2 separate regions of the Homo sapiens genome follow, and region 2 is linked to region 1. Evidence: promoter capture Hi-C in 16 types of primary human blood cells and fetal thymus (Javierre and others, 2016). All regions are on one chromosome and are shown on one strand. Each heading gives the region's core, a stretch centred on a gene start or on the middle of the fragment in contact. The rest is flanking DNA. Distances are from core to core; before and after follow the strand shown. Region 1 holds the start of ZNF333 (zinc finger protein 333). Region 2 holds the start of LINC01530 (long intergenic non-protein coding RNA 1530).

Region 1 (4,527 bases), core at 1,732-4,231:
ATGGTGAAACCCCATCTCTACTAAAAATACAAAAATTAGCTGGGCATGGTGGCAAACGCCTGTAATCCCAGCTGCTCGGGAGGGAGGCTGAGGCAGTAGAGTTGCTTGAACCCAGGAGGCGGAGGTTACAGTGAACTGAGATCGTGCCACGGCATTGCAGCCTGGGCAACAGACTAAGACTCCATGTCAAGAAAAAAAAAAAAAGAATAAGGTCCAGGTCAAGCACGGTGGCTCATGCCTATAATCCCAGCACTTTGGAAGGCCGAGGCAGGTGGATCACTTGGGGTCAGGAGTTCAAGACCAGCCTGGCCAACATGGTGAAACCCCATCTCTACTTAAAATACAAAAATTAGCTGGGCATGGTGGCACACACCTGTAATCCCAGCTACTCAGGAAGCTGAGGCCAGAAAATCGCTGGAACCCGGGAGGTGGAGGCTGCAGTGAGCCCAGATCCCACACTGCACTCCAGCCTGGGTGACAGAGCAAGACTCTGTCTGAAAGAAAAAAAATAAATAAAAAGAAGATCCAATGCTAACCATGATCTTCAGGGACCTGCCTCCCTCTCTCACCTGGCTCATCCATTCAGTACTTTATTTTCTCTACTTTAGCTTTCTCTACCTGTTCTCAGCTCCTGGAACACAGCAGGCTTCGTACTGCCTGAAAGACTGTACATCTGGAATGTTCTCTCAAGTTTCCTCCGCTACCCCACTCCACAGCTAGACCCCTTGTTTAGCTACGTACAACTCATCTTGAAGGTTCAAACATTTGTTCCTTTTCAGATGTGTTTCCTGACATCCTCCCCAAGTTCTCCTGTTCCACGTTCTCATATTGCCTTTGGCACTATTAATTTACCAATATTATTAGCTAGAATAAAGCCTCCACAGGGGCAAGCACTGTAACTATTTCAGTCCCACTGTTTCCCCATGTACAGGGTCCAATTCATTGAGGGCACCCCAGTGAAAATATGCCAAATAATCAACACTCCTCAAGAATGACTCAGTATAGCTAGCCTAAGAAGGAATATGCCCACGCACACACAAAACACAGTATGAGGCCAGGTATGGTTGCTCACGCCTATAATCCCAGCACTTTGGGAGGCCGAGGCGGGTGGATCACCTGAGGTCAGGAGTTCCAGACCAGCCTGGCCAACATGGTGAAACCCCGTCTCTACTAAAAATACAAAAATTAGCCGGGCATGGTGGCGGGCGCCTATAATCACAGCTGCCTGGGAAGCTGAGGCACGAGAATTGCTTGAACCCAGGAGGCAGAAGCTGCAGTGAGCCGAGATTGTGCCACTGCACTCCAGCCTGGGTGATGAAGTGAGACTCTGTCTCAAAAAAAAAAAAAAAAAAGACAATATGACACCATAAAAATCAAATATAAGAATAACTTAAAGTGCCTGTCTTTCATAAGACATAATCACACAAGTTTCAGGTACCTTTAAGAAACAATATTAATTCTTTTTAAAAAGGCAAGGCAAGCGCATATATTCTTTGTGGAAACAAACACCTCACTCGTAAAACTGAAATCTGATGCATGATTTTCCTCTGGAGTTAATTTTTTCCTGATTTCTCAGTAGACACGAGCTTTAACCCCATTATTAAAAAAGACATCCCACTTATGGCCAACTCAATTTGAATTTCCAGTATTAACAAAGTTTATATCGTCTTTTCCCTGAAGTTCCATTAGTTTTGAAGCTCTGTGATTCACATGCTTGGGGGAAGGACTGGAGCCAACTTGAAAAGATCTGAATAACAGTCTTAGGTTTTCTTGATAATAATATTTGTGAAATAACTGAGAAACGGCTTTTCTTAACCTAACAGTGAGAAACTTGATGCCCACAGCAGAAGTAAAAGTCGTCTCAAACATAGAAAATAAAGAAAAACAAAAACAAAAAAAATTAAGAACTCCTCCTTTTGTTGTTGTTTTTGTTTTTGAGATGGAGTCTTGCTCTGTCACCCAGGCTGGAGTGCAGTGGCACAATCTCAGCTCACTGCAACCTCCGCCTCTGGGGTTCAAGCGATTCTCCTGCCTCAGCCTCCCGAGTAGTTGGGATTACAGGCGCCCACCACTACGCTCGGCTAATTTGTGTATTTTTAGTAAAGACAGGGTTTCACCATGTTGGCCAGGCTGGTCTCAAACTCCTGACCTCAGGTGATCCACCCGCCTCGGCCTCCCAAAGTGCTGGGATTATAGGAGTGAGCCACCAAGCCTGGCCAAAAGCTTTCTTATGAGAAAGAAAAAAAAGAAGAAAGAAAAAGTTATGGAAAAGGAAGAGATGCAAAGCCAAGCTAACAGATATTAAGCTAAAAGACTTCAAATTGTCAGTCTCCAAAAGAAATCTCTCGTCATCTAATTCATTCCTTAATGGAGGATGCATTCAATTTTTTAAGTAAATTTGGCCAATCAATTAAACCAGTTTGCACATGTGGACCCAGACCTCACTTTCCAGTTGCAAAGCTAGATAATATTAAGTATCATATCAAATAAAACGTGAATTACTAATTCGCAGTTATCTTGCATACTGTAGGCAAGGTAGGGCCGTCTTTATGCACTTTCCCTAAAAATTGGGAAGGACAGGTGAGAGCTGGGGCCGGTGTCACCACATTTCTGAGCTGTGGGACCTGGACTGTTTGGGATTTCCCTTTTGACAGGATGACAGCCCTGTCTGCCCGGACGGGGGGTACCTGAGAGCGAGAGACCGGGCGGCGGGCGCCCAGATGCGAGGCCCTGACTGTGTGGGCCTCACGCCGGCCACCGGCTGATCGCAGGGAGGAAACCCCTCACACAGGCGGAGCTGTTCTAGGCCCTCCAGTCCCTCCCCGCGCCAGCCGAGCCCTCCCCGCCCTCCCCGCCCTCCCGAGGGGCCGGGCCACACCTGCAAGCCAGCCGGAGACACTCCCACCGTGCCGTGCCGCACCGCGCCGCGCCGCGCAGCACAGCTCAGCCGCCGTCGGCCGCCGCCGCGCGCACTTCCGCTTCCGGTCTCGGGGCCGCCGGGAACGGAAGTGGCTGTGGCTCAGGCTGTTGTGGCCAGGGTAGCCTTAGGCGGCGGCAGAGAAACTAACGTCTTCTTTAGCCTCCAAGGAGAAATTCTAGTATTCTTACCCGGGGGATGAGGTTAGGCTCTGGAGTGGGGTCCCACAGAGCATGGAGGGTGGTGCTGGGGGCGGAGCCTATGTCCGAGAGACAGGGATAGGGGTGGGGCTTAGGTCCCGGGGCAAAAGTGGGGCGGGGCCTGTGCGCGGGGGCGGGGTGGAGTGTGGCTTGCCCTCCGATGGCTGATGGGCGGGGCTTGCACCCCAATGGCGGAGTGGGCGGGGCCTTGGTTTGCAGGGTGGTAGTAGGGGCGGGTCGTGCGCCTCAGGGGCAAAAATGGGGCGGGGCTTGTGCTTGGGGTGGGAATGGGAGCTGAACTTGCATTCGGAAGGCGGGATGAGGGGACCTGGGCTTCAAGGGTTGAGAGGGGCACACCCGACCCCTCCCCGGGTCTCTTTAGGGATGCTCAATATTTAACTTACCCTTTTCTCCTTCCTTTTCCCCAACCCCTTCCACCTTTATCCATGGGCTTAATCCAATCCCCTACAAAAATATACCCATACTTAAGATTGTTTTTGTATATTTTTATACGGCTGACCCTTAGGCAACGGGAGTTGGGGCGCCACCCTGTGCAGTGGAAAATTCACTTCTTTTGACTCCCCCAAAACCTACCTACTAATAGACTACTGTTAACCAGAAGCTTTACCAATAACATAAAGTTAGTTAACACATATTTTGTATATTATATGCCATATTCTTAAAATAAACTAAGCTCAGAGAAAAGAAAGTGTTATTAAGAAAATCATGAAGAAGAGAAAATATATTTACTCTTCGTTACGTGGAAGTGATCGTAAAGATCATAAATAAACGTCTTCATCGTCAGCTTCACCCTGAGTAGGCTGAGGAAAGGGAGGGGTTTGTCTTGCTGTCCCAAGGAGGACAAAGGTAGAAAAAAATCTACCTATAAGGGGATAGCCACAGTTCAAACCCTTGGTGTTCACGGGTCAACTAACTGTCTTTATTCTAAAAATAGGACGATGTATTTTTGTTTCTTCTACAGCTTGCCCTTCTCACTAAAAATAAGATGTGTGAATCTAAGACATAGATCTGACTTTTTAAAAACTATTTATTATGTAGTATACATAGTACATACCTATGGGAAAAGTTCAAACGGGAGGCTCACTCTATTCCTAAATTTTCCTCCCCTGAAACAACCACTGTCACTAGTTCCCTGGTATTCTTTATATATCAAGCACATGTGCAGTCATGCACCACATAACAAGGTTTTGGTCAACCACGAAACACATACACAGTTGTGATCCCATAAGGTTATAATGGAGCTGAAAATTTCTTATCACCTAGTGATGTTGTAACTGTCACAATGTTGCAGTGCAACACATTACTCACATTTAAAAAGGTTTTAAAAATATGAAAAGACCGGGCGCGGTGGCTTACGCCTGCAATCCCAAGACTTTGGAGGCCGACGCT
Region 2 (4,756 bases), core at 911-3,410, about 37 Mb before region 1:
GTGATGTCAGGTACATCTGTCACAGCGGAGCAAAGTCCCCTTTGAAATACTTTCTCCCACAGCTTTTGATTTAGTCCTCCCTCTTTGTTCTTGTTTTTTGCCTCCTGCTTAATATCTTCTGGGGAGGCCTCTTCACAGTCCTCATATCCTGCCCATCACCCCTCTTCTCATTCTGTTTGTGGGTGACTCTGAATCGCAATGTCCACCAGCCTGGCCCTCCAAATGCCCCACGGAAGATCCCATCTAGGCCTCTCATATCTCAGTGCCCAACTGACCAGCTCTCACACCCCAAGGCAGAAACTTACCTAACCAAGCTCCCCGTCTCCCGGAAGCAACACCACCTTTCACCCAGCTTCTCTATGGAAGACAACTCAGCTTTTTCAACCTCTGAATCTGCAGTCACCTAGTACTGGGGTTCACTTCCTGAGGTCCTTATCAGATCCAGTTGCATCCCTGTTTTAGTTACCTACTCACCTCAGCCAGATGAACTTCCCATTGGTTTTTCAACCCCTTGCATCTTTGGCCAGGCTGATCTCATTGCGCAAGACACTTCCCTAAACACTGTGGTAGACCTAACTCTTACCTTCAAGTCTCAGCTCAAACTTTCATTCATTCATTTAACAAATACCCACTGAGTGCCGCCTATGTACCCAGCATGCTCTAGGTACTGGGACACAGCAGTGAGCAAGATAGGAAAGGTTGCAGCTGTCAGGGCACTGATGTTCTAATGGAGGAACCAGGCCATGGATAAGGAAGTAAATGACTAAGATGCTTTCCAAATACGAGGGAATTATCTTTGGTGGTATGACTGGGGGGGGGGGAACAGGGAGGGGGTTCTTTAGGGTGGCTGGAGGCCTTTGAGCTGAGGCCAACAAAATGAGTAGACAGATATTGGGTCAGGGTGGGAAGAATGCTCCAAATTGAGTTAATAGCAAATGCAAAGGACATGAAGGGCAGGGCCTGGCTGTGTTCAGCCCATTGGAAAGTGTGTTGTGACTGAGGACGACCAGAAAGGACCAGAAGCTTAGAGGTTGGCAGGATAAGGAGCTTGGATTTTATTCTGAGATGGGAACCACTGGATGATTTTAAGCTGGGGGGCAGGGTAGTGACTGGTGACAGGATCTGATTTATATTTCCACAGGCTTCCTGGCACTGTGCCTGAATAGAGGGTGGAGTGTGGCAAGGGAAGAAACAGAACAGTGAGGAGGCCCCTGCAGTGATGCAGGTGAGGAGTAACGGTAGCTCGGAGCAGAATGGAGACAGTGGAAGTGGAGAGAAGTGGTTAGATTCTGGGCCTCTTCTGGAGATAGAGACGATGAGACTCACACAAGATTTGGTTGCGGGAGGGAAGCGGATGAGAGAAACAGAACACTGGCGACCATTCCAAGATTTTGGCTTGAGCACTTGGATGGACAGTTAGTGGGGAGGAGGCAGAAAGATTGTGAGAGGAGCAGGTTTAGGACAGGGAATCTGGGATTTCGTTTGGATGTGGTAGATTTGAGGTCCTTTGCTCTGTAAGGTCTTTCCTGAACCCTGGGCTGGGTCTAGCACCTCCTCTGTGTTCCCACAGCCTCCTGAGCACCCCCTGGGCCAGCCCTGACCACTCTGTGTTGTAACCAGGACAGAGGAGGGTGCACTCGCACTGCACCCAGGTTGAAGGGCGAGAGTGAGAAGGTGTCAGGCTGGGCCGCAGAATCCAAAGCGGGTCAGCAGGTACAACAGCTGCTTAGAGCACTCCCACCCGGAGAGAGGGATTGAGAGATCACGGAAAAGGGTGCCATCTTTCCAGGGACGCCTACCAGAACGCGGGGGAGAGAAATACAGAGACCCTCAACTCCGCCACGTCATCGCGACAAAGGGCCAGGACCGGCCGGCCGCGGGATGGGCGCTCACCTGGGCAGAACTGGAGCTGGAAGGGCCAACCTCCAAAGAAACGAGGAGCGGGCGGAAGGACTACGACTCCCGGAAGGCTTTGGGCCCATCCGCCTACGACTCCCAGGTGCCCCTGCGTTGCGTCGTCCCGAAACACTTGCGGCTCTCGGACAAACTGGGCCTACAGTTCCCAGAGATCCTCGCGGCAGCGCTGCGCATTCTGCGCACGCCTCCCAGAGTGTACTAGGCCGGTCCGGCCCGCTTCCCGTCTGCGCCTGCGCAAGCACAATAGCCGTGCCAGAATTCTCTGCCAGCTGCTGTGCACTGCTGTCAGTGCAAAGATGGGATGGACTTTTTTTTCAGATTTTCTGCTGTTGTGGGAGTATGGCAAGAGTTTGAGGGGGCGGAGAAAGAGATTGGGAATGTGAAAAGGGAAGATAGCACCTGCGCTAAGCACATTCCTAGGATTGGGCCGCGTCTCGGGGATGCAGAGTGGGCTCTTCGGCGCGCCCTGCAGCCATGGGAGTGGACGCCTGCCCAGGCCGAAGGGCAAGGACTTGCGGGGTGGGGTCTCTGTGCATGCGCGGAGCTGAAAGGGAGCGTTTTGCAGATCTCCACGCGTGCGCAACTCTCGGGACGTGGACGCGGTGAACAGTTACGCACAATCGTCTTTCTGACACAAACACACCCTGCCAGGTGGAAGCCAGGATGGAGGGCAGGTGAGACCCGTAAGGCAAGATCCCAAAACCAAGGAACGGAGCACTCTCCCCGCTTGCTCCCCAGATCCAAGCCCTCCACTTCCTTCCAATGCCCCCCTTCCCGAAACTGCTCCCTCCTGTATATTCTGAGATCTTATCACTATTCCCGTGAGGCCCTTGATAAGGAGGATTGAGAGTGAAGGGTGATGGGAGACACGCCTTGGGCGTCTTCTGTCCACCTCAAGGATTGAACTTTGGTAACTGGAACTCATTCATTTGTTAATCTGTGTGCTAGGCCCTTTGACCCGCTGGCCAGATGCACCGGGACACAGGTGTATTCAGCCTGGTCCAGAGATAAGGATGATAAATCTTAATGTAAAGGTATCAGATGTTAAGGGCTGCAGGAGCCCAGAGGTTACAAGTGCTGCAAGCCAGAACATGGGGAAACAACAGCAATTAAGCCGTTAGCTTGTGCCTTGGAGGGGTGTTTGCCCTGCACCCCACTCACTACCTGAAGATAAATGGCTTCTCCAACGTGTAGTGGGGTTGGGATGATGAGGATGACATCACTGCCAGGTGGGAGGCAGGAGCTGCAGGTCCTGACATGATGAGGCAGGTATGGGCCGCCCTGGGCTGAGGGGGACATGGGCTACCCTGGACTGGAGGGCTGGGCTGTGGCATGGGGACCCTGTCAGAGACAGGTGTTTGGCCTCCATGCCTTCCTGTGTCTCTGGAAGGGTGAAACTAAGCGGGATGCTCCTCTCCCAGCCCCACCTGCTTTTCAGAGGCTACCATATGCTGGAGGGGGAAGATCCTGGCCACAAGCAGAGGCCCTGGAGGTGAATCAGTGTTGGAAGTGGGGTGGTTGGTTCTGGGTCCTCCCTGAGGCTCACATGGCTGCCCCTCCCCATCCTCCAGGCCTCGCCTTCTGTCCCGGATCCGCCAATCCTCCGATCCCTGGATCCTCTGATGATGGCATCAACTGTCTGGGCTACAGGTTGCTCTCCAAAGAGTGGCTGCCCCTCTACACCAACCTCACTGTGGACATAACTTCCAAGCCTCAGGAGACCCAGTGCAAAGCTGAGGGGTATCTTATCTGGAAGCCAGAAAGAGCCCCTGAGGCCAAGGTCACAGGGAAGCCCTCCCACTCACCCCACCTGGTTTCTTTTAAAAGTAGAGTTTATTTTATCTCCTTTCTGCCATCCCTAATTCCTTCCTTCCATCTGTCCATCCATCTTCTTTCCCCTCCCTCCCTTCCTCCCTTCTCCTTCTCCTCCTCCCCACACCTGCTTCTTTTCTCTTTCTTTCAACTATGTCCAGAAGGTCCTTCTTAACAAACACTAATTAGTACAGGGAAAGGTCTCTTTAAGTGAATGCATTTAAAATAGGGAGTCCACCTTTGTGGTAAATAGTGTGCACGAGGTGAGTCTGGATCAGGACTTCACACTTGATAACGGAATTCAATTTCTCAAAATACCTTTATTTCAGATTTAATGAAATTCCATGTTTGTTGAATCATTAAGAACGAGCATTTGTGTTGTACTCATGGTGGACAGCCACCATTCTAATGCTTGACTTTACATAATTAACGCATGTAATCTGCAAAGGAGCCACAAGGCGAGATCTATTATTATTCCCATTGTGCTGCTGGAGAAATTAAGGCAGAGAGGTTAAGTTGCTTGCCACCAAACTAGCGAGGGGCAGAGCTGGGATGTGTAGCATCCAGGTAGGTTGGCTCCAGAGCCCATGAGCCTAACTACTACTGTGCCCAACCTTTGTGCCAATCGCCACAACAGTCAAAGGATGGATCAAGTACTGGTTTTGGGGGTGGGGGCAGGGGACTCTGGGCAGTATGTTTTCTGATCACATCACATGACAGTAGGACATTCTTCATTTCACCATGGCTTTCACTGCCCAACAATAAAAAGGTCATGGGCACTTTGGGAGGCCGAGGGGGGGGGATCACGAGGTCAGGAGATCGAGACCATCCTGGCCAACACGGTGAAACCCCGTCTCTACTAAAAATACAAAAAATTAGCCAGGCATGGTGGTGGGCGCCTGTAGTCCCAGCTACTCGGGAGGCTGAGGCAGGAGAATGGCGTGAACCCGGGAGGCGGAGCTTGCAGTGAGCTGAGATCGTGCCACTGCACTCCAGAGCCTGGGCGACAGAGCGAGACTCCATCTCA

The links. Contacts are between HindIII fragments. The CHiCAGO score rates a contact against its expected background, and 5 or more counts as called.
Region 2: the fragment with the promoter of LINC01530 here is called in contact with the fragment with the promoter of ZNF333 in region 1 in 2 of 17 cell types (total CD8 T cells and total CD4 T cells); the score reaches 7.3 in total CD8 T cells.

The regions. Positions count from the first base shown.
Region 1 is chr19:14,688,502-14,693,028 of GRCh38, reverse strand. ZNF333 (zinc finger protein 333) reads right to left here and starts at 2,981. Exons shown (of 12, transcript NM_032433.4): 1 at 2,879-2,981. RefSeq lists silencers at 2,638-3,007, 3,338-3,387. The HindIII fragment of the contact is 1,516 bases long and covers 2,226-3,741 here.
Region 2 is chr19:51,591,784-51,596,539 of GRCh38, reverse strand. It overlaps LINC01530 (long intergenic non-protein coding RNA 1530), which reads left to right and starts at 2,160. Exons shown (of 2, transcript NR_034159.1): 1 at 2,160-2,591; 2 at 3,489-4,756. ZNF175 (zinc finger protein 175) reads right to left here. Exons shown (of 5, transcript NM_007147.4): 5 at 4,030-4,756. RefSeq lists a silencer at 1,243-1,410 and enhancers at 1,493-1,542, 1,753-2,062, 1,809-2,444, 2,445-3,080, 3,081-3,716. The HindIII fragment of the contact is 8,842 bases long and covers 1,026-4,756 here.